Regions from separate parts of the Homo sapiens genome. Here all the other regions are linked to region 2. Evidence: promoter capture Hi-C in 16 types of primary human blood cells and fetal thymus (Javierre and others, 2016). All regions are on one chromosome and are shown on one strand. The core of a region is centred on a gene start or on the middle of the fragment in contact, and the rest is flanking DNA. Distances in the headings are between cores, read along the strand shown.

Region 1 (2,856 bases), core at 314-2,813, 740 kb after region 2:
ATGAGGAACATTTCAGATTTAGTTTGTAGCAATTCAACTTTGGGAGTCTTGCAAGAACTCACTTATTTTAATGGAAAATAGCCCAGGTTGTCTACCAGCTTTTCCTGAGCTCTGTTTTGGGTGTTCTACCCAAAATAAAAAACGTATAAACACAAAAATAGTAATGTTCATGTCTGTGACAGCCAATGTTAAGTCTCTGCTGTTGTCTATGGCTGTTATCCAAAAAGTAGATTCAATTCTGTCATGTATTGGAGTCTGGGAATGTTGTTAAGAGATACATACATTGAAATTTGGAGAGCTGCTCTGTATTTATCAATTAGGCAGTAATAATCTTGGATGAAGGCTAGTCTTATTAATGTTGTGAACCAGTCTTATTAATGTTGTGAACCAGTAGTGTCCCCAGGAATAGAGAACACTACACTACTCACTTTGCATTTTCTTATCCACATAATAGAATTAGTTAGTGATAACCCTCTTTACTCGGAATCGATTGCTGCCACATTTCTGCATGATACATAGATCTCTGCAAATATGTGATTTTTTTCCTAAATGGAGAAAATCCAAAAATTCTTCTTAAAATTTTTCATGGGCATACAAGAAGATAGGAGGTGACATCTTAAAACAAGTATCTCTGAACTTTTTGTATAAAAAAAAGCAACCTCTTTGCTCTATTATTAATACCACATGTGGTGATATGAATGCCCAAATGTAGACAGCAGTTATGAGATATTACAAGAGAAGAAAAAAGCTCTGCCGCTTATGGCAACTTACCCAAAAAGTTATCTTTGACTTAGGCTGGAGGTGCACATAGCATAGCTCCTAGAGTTCTGTTTATGTCATGAATATTTGTTACTCAAAACTCCATAGGCCAAGAGCTCCTGAAGAGAAGGTCACATGCTAGCAGCAATTGTCATTTTTTCCCTCAAATATTGCTATAGTATAATTTTGTTTGAATTATAAACTTCAGTCTTTATTATATTTGATTCTGGCATTTTGGTTTGTAGTGCTATAGTACAGGAAATGTTTTAAATGCTTTGCCTTTATGTAAGTGAATATCGGTACACACACATACACATACACACACAGACACAGACACACACACACACACACTCACAGCCAGTTTAGAATGTGGGGTAAGGAACACCAGACAAAGAGGGCAATATAAGAAAGAGAAGACATTGAAAACATTGGGAAGAGGCAGTAACAGAGTGCCAGAGAAGATAAGGCAGCTGGGAGGGGGAGAAACTAAGTGAGGTGGATAAACTAAAAGCATCCTTCTGGGTTAAAGCAGACTAAAAGCTTAGCAATTGCTTAATATCACCATCTTATCCTATAGATGTGGGAATAAAGGCTAAGGAAGGAGAAATGAAAATGCAGAATCATATGGGGGCTTTTCCAAGGAGGTATGAAGGAAGGTGAGGACAGGGAGAGCGGCTGGAAGTCAGGGGGTAAGAGAAACTCTAAAAATCAGGGCTTGAGGGAAATAAAAGGTGAGGTAAGAGGCTCAGGGCTGTGGGAGGCACATTTTTCTCTGAAAAGCAGTTTGGATGAGGAAGAGATTTGGCAGTTGGAAGAGAGAAGAAGTCACTACAGGGTACTGAGGAAAAGCTTTGCTGAAATTGGAGATCAAATACCAGCTCTGCCAGTAAGAAGTTGCATCTCCCAGTGAAATGCTGCTGCTGCCATTTCAACTGTTAGCTGTTCTCTTTCCTGGTGGTAACAGTGAACATGGTAAGAGTCACTCTGGCAGCTCCCAGCACTGGTGCAGGGGTTTGGATTTTAAAAAGCAAGCAGGGCTTTCCTAGGTGCAATTGGACACTAAGGGTCTGGGTCTTTCTGTCTCCCGCCCTCTTCAACCATTCTGGTGGTTGGGACTAGAACCTGAAGCCTTAAGGCAGTCAAATGTGTCAGACTTCCTGTGTTCTTTAGACTCTAGGTTCTTGTTTTCTAAATCATTTTCATTCCCATTCTTCCTAATTGTCTCCTGCTTCTCTCTTTATCTTCACCATCTTGCTTTTCCACTCTTCACAGCCTTCCAGGGGCCGACCTCCTTTCATGTTATCCAGACCTCGTCCTTTACCAATAGTACCTGGGCACAAACTCAAGGCTCAGGCTGGTTGGATGATTTGCAGATTCATGGCTGGGATAGCGACTCAGGCACTGCCATATTCCTGAAGCCTTGGTCTAAAGGTAACTTTAGTGATAAGGAGGTTGCTGAGTTAGAGGAGATATTCCGAGTCTACATCTTTGGATTCGCTCGAGAAGTACAAGACTTTGCCGGTGATTTCCAGATGAAATGTGAGTCTAGTCCACCGAACTGGGAAGAGTCTCAAGGACTCTCTTTTCTCTCTTTTTTGCAAAGTGTTGCTCTCTCTGATGCTTCTCCCTTCCTTTCTATTTTACCCAAATGCACGCACATGCTTTTCTTGAGTAGTCTCTCACTCCAGCTTCACACCATCACACCTCATATTTCAGATTCTTGCTGCCTCTGCACTCTTCTCTTACTCTCAGACTGTCTTCCACTTTGTAACCAGCTGCTGGTTTGTCTTATGTGAAACTTCTCCTCAAGGGCCCTTACTTCTCCTACCCTGTGCCTGAGTGATCTAACGTGTGGCTTTCTCCCCTAATCCATCTTTTCAATCATCTCCTCCCCGCACCCTCCTCTTGCTGGGAACCTCCACTCACTCTGGAATGCTGCACTCCTGACTGCACCACGCTCTGCCTCACCTCTCCTTTCATACTCACTGTACTCCTTTATCACATACCTTTGTCTTCATGGCATGCACATTTTTCTCAATGCTCTTGTTTCTGAAAATGTCTAAATGTTATCATTAGTTTTTAGCTCATCATCATTTT
Region 2 (2,906 bases), core at 70-2,569:
TTGTCACTCCTACCCACACTGGGCCTGGGGGTGAAGGGAAGTGTTTATTAGGGGTACATGTGAAGCCGTCCAGAAGTGTCAGAGTCTTTGTAGCTTTGAAAGTCACCTAGGTTATTTGGGCATGCTCTCCTGAGTCCTCTGCTAGTTAAGCTCTCTGAAAAGAAGGTGGCAGACCCGGTTTGCTGATCGCCCCAGGGATCAGGAGGTAAGCACCATAGAGGAGCTGGGTTAGAGACGAGAGACTTAACCGTTTCTCTGCTGAAAAAGACAACTGAGGAAAGGCCAGCCATGCTGTGCACACCTCTGAGAACCTGAACCTGCAAACATGGACATCAGCTCTGAAAGGATGGGTTCATTTCTCTTTTATTCACTTTAGCCATGTCCTCTGGTGTCTCTGAGCTGGTGTTCCTTAAGCTTCGGCTTCCTTTGGGGTTTGTCTATCAGCCTATTTGTAAGGCTGACTTTTATGCCAATAGCAAATACAAGCATTTTTTAAGTTAACAGATATTATGAAGTAAAATGCAAGTTTTTCATTTATAAGGCAACATAACTTCAGAGAAAAAACTGAGTCAATCACATAAAATGTGATTAAAATGTGATTGTTATTATATAAGAGGGTTATAGGAAGATTAGCTTCTTATGGACAAGTAGAAAAGTAGGAATCATCCAAGCTGATTGTCACAGTAGATATTCAACAAAGGTAGTGTCCTTCCTTGCTTTCATCAGTAGGATGGGGGCATTTGGATGGCTTTATCATTGCAAATATTTTTAATGTATTCCTTATTTTGAAAATGGTCCTGATAATAGTTTTAATTTTCACTCATGAACTCTACATGTATAAGTAGAGTTTCTCCAGCGCTTACCAACATATAGGAAAAAACATTATAAGGCCATTAACAGTGATAGTTTAGAATTTATTAACATTGACTCTACTGATGGGGGTATTCAAGCTTCCCTAAAATTCACAATCAGTTATTTTCAGCTCATAAACATCTTTTCCTGTTCTTTGGCTTATTTCTTCCACTTTATATGTTGCTGCTCTGGAAGTCATTAATTGCTAATAATGTCAAACATCTTTTTTATGTTTATTGGATATTTGAGCAAATTGCTCATTCACATCTTTTGCACACTTTTCAAATAGACTGTTGTTTTCTTATTGATACATGGTTCTCCATGTATTCCAAAAGCAAAACCTCTATTAGCTCTCTCTCTCTCTCTCTCTCTCTATATATATATATATAGCAGGTATAGCCATATATATATGTGTGTGTGTGTGTGTGTGTGTGTGTGTGTGTGTGTGTGTATTGCAGGTATCTGCCCAGTTTTTGCCTTGTATAATCACTTTGTTTAGTGTGTGTGTGTGCACGGATGTGTGTGTTTCCTACAAAGAAATTGAGAATATGCATGCAATCACATTTGACAAATTTTTTTTTTCTGGCTTGTCCTTTTTGTGCCTTATTTAAGGAACCTCCTTCTACTTCAATGTATTGAGAAATTCTGTGTTTTATTCAACATCATTACTATTCTATTTAGATAATTAATCCAACCAGATATATATTTTGTGTATGATATAAGAGAAAGGCTGAATATATCATTCCCTGTGTATTGTCATTTGTCTGAACACTTTTTATAGTTGGCCATTCTTTCCTTGTGATTTTTAATGCCACTTTGATTATATACCAAGCTTTAATTTACATGTGGTCCTGTTTCCACACTCTATTTATTAGTTCATTTTTTTCTACGCCACTGCCATACTGATTTAATAATTATACATTTGTAGTAAGTATTGATACCTAGTAGTAGGGATAGTACATCCTGATAAACATATTCAACTTGTTTTGCAGGTTTTTGTCTTTATTTTTTTCATTTAGGTTTTAGGATCATTCTGATAAATTCTATGAAAAACCCTTTGAGATTTTGGATAGGAGTTTATAGATTAATTTGACAACACTGCTGTCTTCATTTTATCAAATCTTCCCATTTAAAATATCAGACATACACCCACTTAAGTAGGTCCTTTAAATCTCCCAATAAAGTTTTATAAGTTTCCCTTTAAAACTCTTAAATATATTGTATTCGATGTTCTTATGTACTTTGTAGTTTTGTTGCTATTGGAAATTACTTTTTTTATGTAATTTTTTTCTCTCTTGGAGTGGTACTAAAATAAAGGAATGCATTTCTGTATATTAATCTTATAGTTATAAACTGTTGAATTATTATTTATAATGTTTTGTGTATTATTTTGGATACTATACATAAACAACTATATTACTACAACGTGATTTTGGCAACAAGTTACAAAAATAGGTTGATGGACAGAATAAAGAATCCAGAAATAGACTCACTCATATTTGGACAACTGATTTTTGCAAAGGTAAAAAAAAAAATCATTAAAAATGACAGTCTTTTTAACATATGATTCTGGGAAAATTCATATTCATATGAAAAATAAATGAACTTTGAATCATCACTTATATCATATACAAATTAACTCAAAGCAGTACATACAGCCAAATGTGAAATGATCAAACCGTAAAATTCTTACAGGAAGACATAAAATCTTCTAATCTTGAGATTGGAAAAGATTTCTTAAATAAGACACTGAAAGCATGATCCATGAAAGAACAGATTGATTAATTGCACTTCATCAGGTATATGTATATGCCAAAATTTATCAGATTGTATACTTCCAGTGTATGCACCGTGTTGTATGCCAGTTATGCCTCGATAAATCTATTTTAAAAATAACAGGAAAATGTATCCTGTTTCCTTTTTGTTGTTGTTGTTGTTGTTGTTTTGAGATGAAGTTTCGCTCCTGTTGCCCAGGCTGGAGTGCAATGGCGCGATCTTGGCTCACTGCAACCTCCACCTCCCAGGTTCAAATAATTCTCCTGCCTCAGCCTCCT
Region 3 (2,700 bases), core at 13-2,512, 610 kb after region 2:
AATAAACTGTTGGGATATGTGGAAGGCACTGAAGCAGAGGATCCCTGAACATTTTACAGAGGAATTTTGACTAAGATAGTATCGGAGTACTATGACCCCTAGGAGCCTTTCTTGCTCAGAGAATCAAAGACTCTCTAGTTAGATGATCTCAAAATCCCCTTAATTGTGATATTTTAGAACGTATGAATAGAATTCAGGCTATGATCCTTGGAGATGCTACTTCAGTGTTTTATTTTTCTAATTCCTCAGATGCTCCACTGGGATTTTATGTAATCTGGATTTAAATAGAAACAAAGTACTTGAGGGTGCTGGGTTCCCCCAAAAGAAGGCAATCTACAGAGTTTTCACGTGTAAAACTTTTAAGAAATATAAATATTTATTTTAAGGAAAACATCAATCAGTTAGCTGAGAGAAATTATGTAAGCAGCTTCAGATAATAAAGGAGTGAAATTTTAACTTCTTAGATACAAATAAAAATCTTTAATTTCTCCAGATTGCCATATTAAAATGGAGTTTAAGTACTAGATTTCAATTATACCTAAAATTATACATCCAGGAGTACACAGCAGAAACAGAAGTAGAAGAGTGAGAGATGAGAGACAAGTGGAGTATCTGTTTCATTTAATCCATGAATCCACCAATGAACAAAAAAGAGAAGTAGAGGAGGAAGGAAGGAAGGAAAGAAGGAAGGGAGGAAGGAAGTAAGGAAGAAAGGAAGGAAGGAAGGAAAAGAAAAAAGAAAATAAAATCTAGCTATGAGTAAGAATGACCCAATATGATCTTCAAGAACAATTCAGATAATTTTTTTTTTTTTTTCAGAAGGAGTCTCACTCTGTTTCCCAGGCTGGAATGCAATGGCACGGTCTCGGCTCACTGCAACTTCTGCCTCCCAGGTTCAAGAAATTCTCCTGCCTCAGCCTCCCAGGTAGCTGGGATTACAGGTGCACGCAACCATGCCTGGCTAATTTTTTTATTTTTAGTAGAGACGGGGTTTCATCATGTTGGCCAGGTTGGTCTCAAACTCCTGACCTCAGGTGATTCACCCATCTTGTCCTCTCAAAGTGTTGGGATTGCAGGGGTGAGCCACTACACCCAGCCAAATTCTGAGAATTATAAAGGCCATTCCCAGTCACTCTTAGTAAGTTCAGTGAAAGGTAGCCTCTGATTCTCCTTTTTAACTCTGCTACTTACCAGAAATGCCATCACTGATCTCCATGGGAGGCACAGAAAGAGGCTTTCTCAAACACTACCCATCATTCAAGTCCAGTCCCCACAAATCCCCAAGCTAGGTCAATGTTCCCACTGCTCGGTAAGTACTTACATTGCTCTCTCCCTTCTAATTTAGAGAGAAGCAGCTATTCAGTATTTGGCAGTCTCCTGACAAGTAGCACCACTGCCACAAATCAGAGCCTGAGGAAATAACAGCAAATGAGAGGGAAGCTGCCTTGAGATAGAAACTCTCATCTGAATCAACAGAGCTAGCCTCCTCCATCTATCAGGACTCCCAGCTTCTCCAGATAAGTCACCATCTTCAGAAGTTCTGATGACCAACGTGGGATGTGGTTATTAGAAGCATGTACTGTAAACACTGGACTCCTGAGGTTAGATCTACTGCACTGGAGCTGTTGTCTTGGGGTTAATTAGGAGTCAAGTTCATTTTGGAAAAAATAATGTCACCAGTTTCTCAAAGGTGGCCTCAGTTGAGGAGCCTGGGGAGTTGAAGTCATGAGCATAATTAGCCCATGTATGCTTTGAAAGTTGAGTCCATTTGAAAGTTGTGATGGATTCTGAAGGAGAGCCCACCACAATTAAGACTGTAATGCAACAGACCAAGTGGAAAATTTTTACTGAATTTTAATCAGAAGACTGATGTATTTGTCCAATGACACTCAACTTCAGTGTTTCTAAGAATCAAAAGAGGGTTGAATGATGTTTTCCAGGGCGCTGCCCCTAGAAACTCTAATTAAGAACATTGAGATGTTTTGCAAAAACCTAAAATTTTAGTAAGTATACTAAATCTAGTTGAGCTCTGTCATCAAACAGTGTGTTATCTTATTAATGCATTTTACCAGAATGACAAAATAATATAGAGTTGTGAATTTTGTTCAAGCTAATCTATAAAGCCAATATAATTCCAACCCAAATCCATGCATAAATTTTGAAGTCACCCTGACAATCAGATTTCCAAAATTTTCATGAAATTATAAAACAATTTTGTAAAGGGCAAGTAATATAGGCCCTCACTCTTCCTAGTAAAAAAAAACTATGCTTTAGTAATAAAAAAGAGCATGCTATTGGTGCAAGAAGAAATAAGTAGTATAGAGACAGAAAGGAGAGCTCAGAAATTAATGTATGTGTATTTGAGAACTTGGTCTTTGGCAGAAGTGACCTCACAAGTCAGTGAGAGAATTATAATTATGTACTAAATAATACTGGGAAGCCTCTGTGTATTCCACCGCTCAGAAGGAGGTGACCTGGTGGAATATGAAACGGTTTACTTGAGGCTCAGTTACTGCACTGGCTCTGTGCCAATACCTAGTACAGCCCCATGTGTCTGCCCAAAGCAGAATATACTCTGAACCAGCAGCCAAAGGATTGTGTTCATTCTCTACTAACAAGAATGTATAAGTCTGAGAACCGACGTTTAAGGGGAGATGAAATGAATCCTTCTGTTATTACTCCTAATGACTTATATGCATA
Region 4 (2,806 bases), core at 86-2,585, 680 kb after region 2:
AGGGCTCTGGGAGGAGGAATAACCTAGACTATAAAATAATGGGAAGTTCCTGAGATAGGCTCTTCTCTTTCCATTTAGCACTTTCTGGCTATTTTATTTGCAAGAGATTCAAGGTGTGTTCACGTTATTTCCTCTCCTTTCTTCAATAGAGAGAAGACTTAACCTAAGTCTTCCTGCTCCACCCCTATCCCTAGTGATCATCAATCTATTTTGTTTCATAGACAGATACATCATAACCTTGTGACCCAGGTTTTACACTTGGGTCCCTTCACAGTTCCAGAAACATACAGAACAAATGTCATAGAATCATGAAAGAGAATTCAAAGGCTATAGACTCCTTAGATAAAAAAGGGCAGATTTATTAAAGAACCCTGATTTAATCATCCCACAATGTATACATGTATCCAAACATCACATAATACCCCATAAATAGGTATAATTATTAGTTGCTAATAAAAAATAAATTAAAAAGAAAATAATTTTTAATGTAAAAGTAACAGTTCTTTCTTTAACTGTGCATATTTAAATTTTTGCTCAATTTTAAAAAAAGAATCTCAAGGATAAGAACACTTGAGTCAAATGCAGGGAAACTCTGTCCTGATTTAAGGATCCAGGCTCTTCTAGTGTTCAAATATCAAACCAGGATATTTGCCTCTCAACTCCTTAACTGCATAAGCAGCTGACACATAGATTGGAGTTACTATGTGTTAAGTGCTGTTTCAAGTACTTTACTGATACCATCTAAGTTCTTACAACAATCCTATATAATATGTTCTATTATTATTTATGTCTTACAAATGACAAAAATTGTCACACTGAAGTTCATAGCTCTAAGTGGCAAAGGCAAGTTTCAAACTCTAGCATTCTTGTTCCTGAGTTCATGCTCTGAGGCACAGTGTTTTAATGCCTTTACAATAATGCTAATTAAATGGATTGTGATATTAGGAAAAGAAACCAAATTACTAGGATAGAATATACATCCAAGGACCAAATACATACAGTACAAGAAAAATAATTTAAATTTTCTATTCCATATTAAAGGTAATGTTCTTCTTAAACTGAGAGAATTTTTTCACTTTGTCAAATAGTTGGATCCTTTTAACTTTGGGGTATTTATATACTGTAGATAATCATTTCTCTGTTACTTCAGATTAATAATTTTTTGGAAAAATCATTAAAGAGGCATCTATATCTAGATAGACTAAGAGAAAGAGATGTTAACATTATGAATCTGACAATATACTTAAAGTGAAGGCGTTGGGAAAATGTTCGTATTACAAAGATAGTTATCATTTTGTCTCTTTCAAACACATTCACAGAAAGAAGTTCTTCAGATGCGAGGTTTCAACAAAACCACTGTGGTTACACAGTTCATCCTGGTGGGTTTCTCCAGCCTGGGGGAGCTCCAGCTGCTGCTTTTTGTCATCTTTCTTCTCCTATACTTGACAATCCTGGTGGCCAATGTGACCATCATGGCCGTTATTCGCTTCAGCTGGACTCTCCACACTCCCATGTATGGCTTTCTATTCATCCTTTCATTTTCTGAGTCCTGCTACACTTTTGTCATCATCCCTCAGCTGCTGGTCCACCTGCTCTCAGACACCAAGACCATCTCCTTCATGGCCTGTGCCACCCAGCTGTTCTTTTTCCTTGGCTTTGCTTGCACCAACTGCCTCCTCATTGCTGTGATGGGATATGATCGCTATGTAGCAATTTGTCACCCTCTGAGGTACACACTCATCATAAACAAAAGGCTGGGGTTGGAGTTGATTTCTCTCTCAGGAGCCACAGGTTTCTTTATTGCTTTGGTGGCCACCAACCTCATTTGTGACATGCGTTTTTGTGGCCCCAACAGGGTTAACCACTATTTCTGTGACATGGCACCTGTTATCAAGTTAGCCTGCACTGACACCCATGTGAAAGAGCTGGCTTTATTTAGCCTCAGCATCCTGGTAATTATGGTGCCTTTTCTGTTAATTCTCATATCCTATGGCTTCATAGTTAACACCATCCTGAAGATCCCCTCAGCTGAGGGCAAGAAGGCCTTTGTCACCTGTGCCTCACATCTCACTGTGGTCTTTGTCCACTATGGCTGTGCCTCTATCATCTATCTGCGGCCCAAGTCCAAGTCTGCCTCAGACAAGGATCAGTTGGTGGCAGTGACCTACACAGTGGTTACTCCCTTACTTAATCCTCTTGTCTACAGTCTGAGGAACAAAGAGGTAAAAACTGCATTGAAAAGAGTTCTTGGAATGCCTGTGGCAACCAAGATGAGCTAACAAAAAATAATAATAAAATTAACTAGGATAGTCACAGAAGAAATCAAAGGCATAAAATTTTCTGACCTTTAATGCATGTCTCAGACAGTGTTTCCAAGGATTAAGACTACTCTTGCCTTTTTATTTTCTCCTATTCCAAAAAGAAAAAAAATGCAAGTCAATCTACACTCTATATTGTCCGATGTCTAGTTAAAAAAAAAGAATTCACACTTGGCAAAAAGAGAAAAGCATGAGAGTTTTTCAAGGAAAGACACAACCAAAACAAATATAAGGACAAGAATTGCTTTTCCAGTTGGAGAGACAGAACAGAGTCTGAAGTGGCTGGAAGCATTTTTATCCGGGACACAGGCATTCATCTAGTAATACATTCATCTGTGTACCAAGTCCCATTCAAAGAGGAAAAATTAAAATGAACAAATGTATAGTTTATGGTGGTTGGGACTGGTTAGGTGAAAAGATGAACACTGAAAAAAATATGATAATGCAAGATAATCAGATCAGTTAAAAGAATATAAATAAAAGTTATG

Evidence for each region. The method cuts DNA at HindIII sites, captures the fragments that hold promoters and counts their contacts. A CHiCAGO score of 5 or more calls a contact.
Region 1: the fragment with the promoter of CD1B here is called in contact with a fragment that was not itself captured in region 2 in 10 of 17 cell types (M2 macrophages, M1 macrophages, fetal thymus and 7 more); the score reaches 13.7 in M2 macrophages.
Region 3: the fragment with the promoter of OR10K1 here is called in contact with a fragment that was not itself captured in region 2 in 1 of 17 cell types (erythroblasts); the score reaches 6.2 in erythroblasts.
Region 4: a contact is called between the fragment with the promoter of OR10T2 here and a fragment that was not itself captured in region 2, in 4 of 17 cell types (fetal thymus, naive B cells, total B cells and 1 more). The highest score is 9.5, in fetal thymus.

The regions. Positions count from the first base shown.
Region 1 is chr1:158,330,238-158,333,093 of GRCh38, reverse strand. It overlaps CD1B (CD1b molecule), which reads left to right and starts at 1,563. Exons shown (of 6, transcript NM_001764.3): 1 at 1,563-1,731; 2 at 2,032-2,298. The coding sequence starts at 1,671. The HindIII fragment of the contact is 309 bases long and covers 1,302-1,610 here.
Region 2 is chr1:159,073,932-159,076,837 of GRCh38, reverse strand. AIM2 (absent in melanoma 2) reads left to right here and starts at 72. Exons shown (of 6, transcript NM_004833.3): 1 at 72-205. The HindIII fragment of the contact is 734 bases long and covers 953-1,686 here.
Region 3 is chr1:158,460,396-158,463,095 of GRCh38, reverse strand. OR10K1 (olfactory receptor family 10 subfamily K member 1) reads right to left here and starts at 1,262. Exons shown (of 2, transcript NM_001004473.2): 1 at 1,192-1,262. LOC107985212 (a long non-coding RNA gene) reads left to right here and starts at 325. Exons shown (of 2, transcript XR_001738256.3): 1 at 325-925; 2 at 1,346-2,700. The HindIII fragment of the contact is 25,948 bases long and covers 1-2,700 here.
Region 4 is chr1:158,397,995-158,400,800 of GRCh38, reverse strand. OR10T2 (olfactory receptor family 10 subfamily T member 2) reads left to right here and starts at 1,335. Exons shown (of 1, transcript NM_001004475.1): 1 at 1,335-2,279. The coding sequence starts at 1,335. The coding sequence ends at 2,279. The HindIII fragment of the contact is 4,820 bases long and covers 1-2,806 here.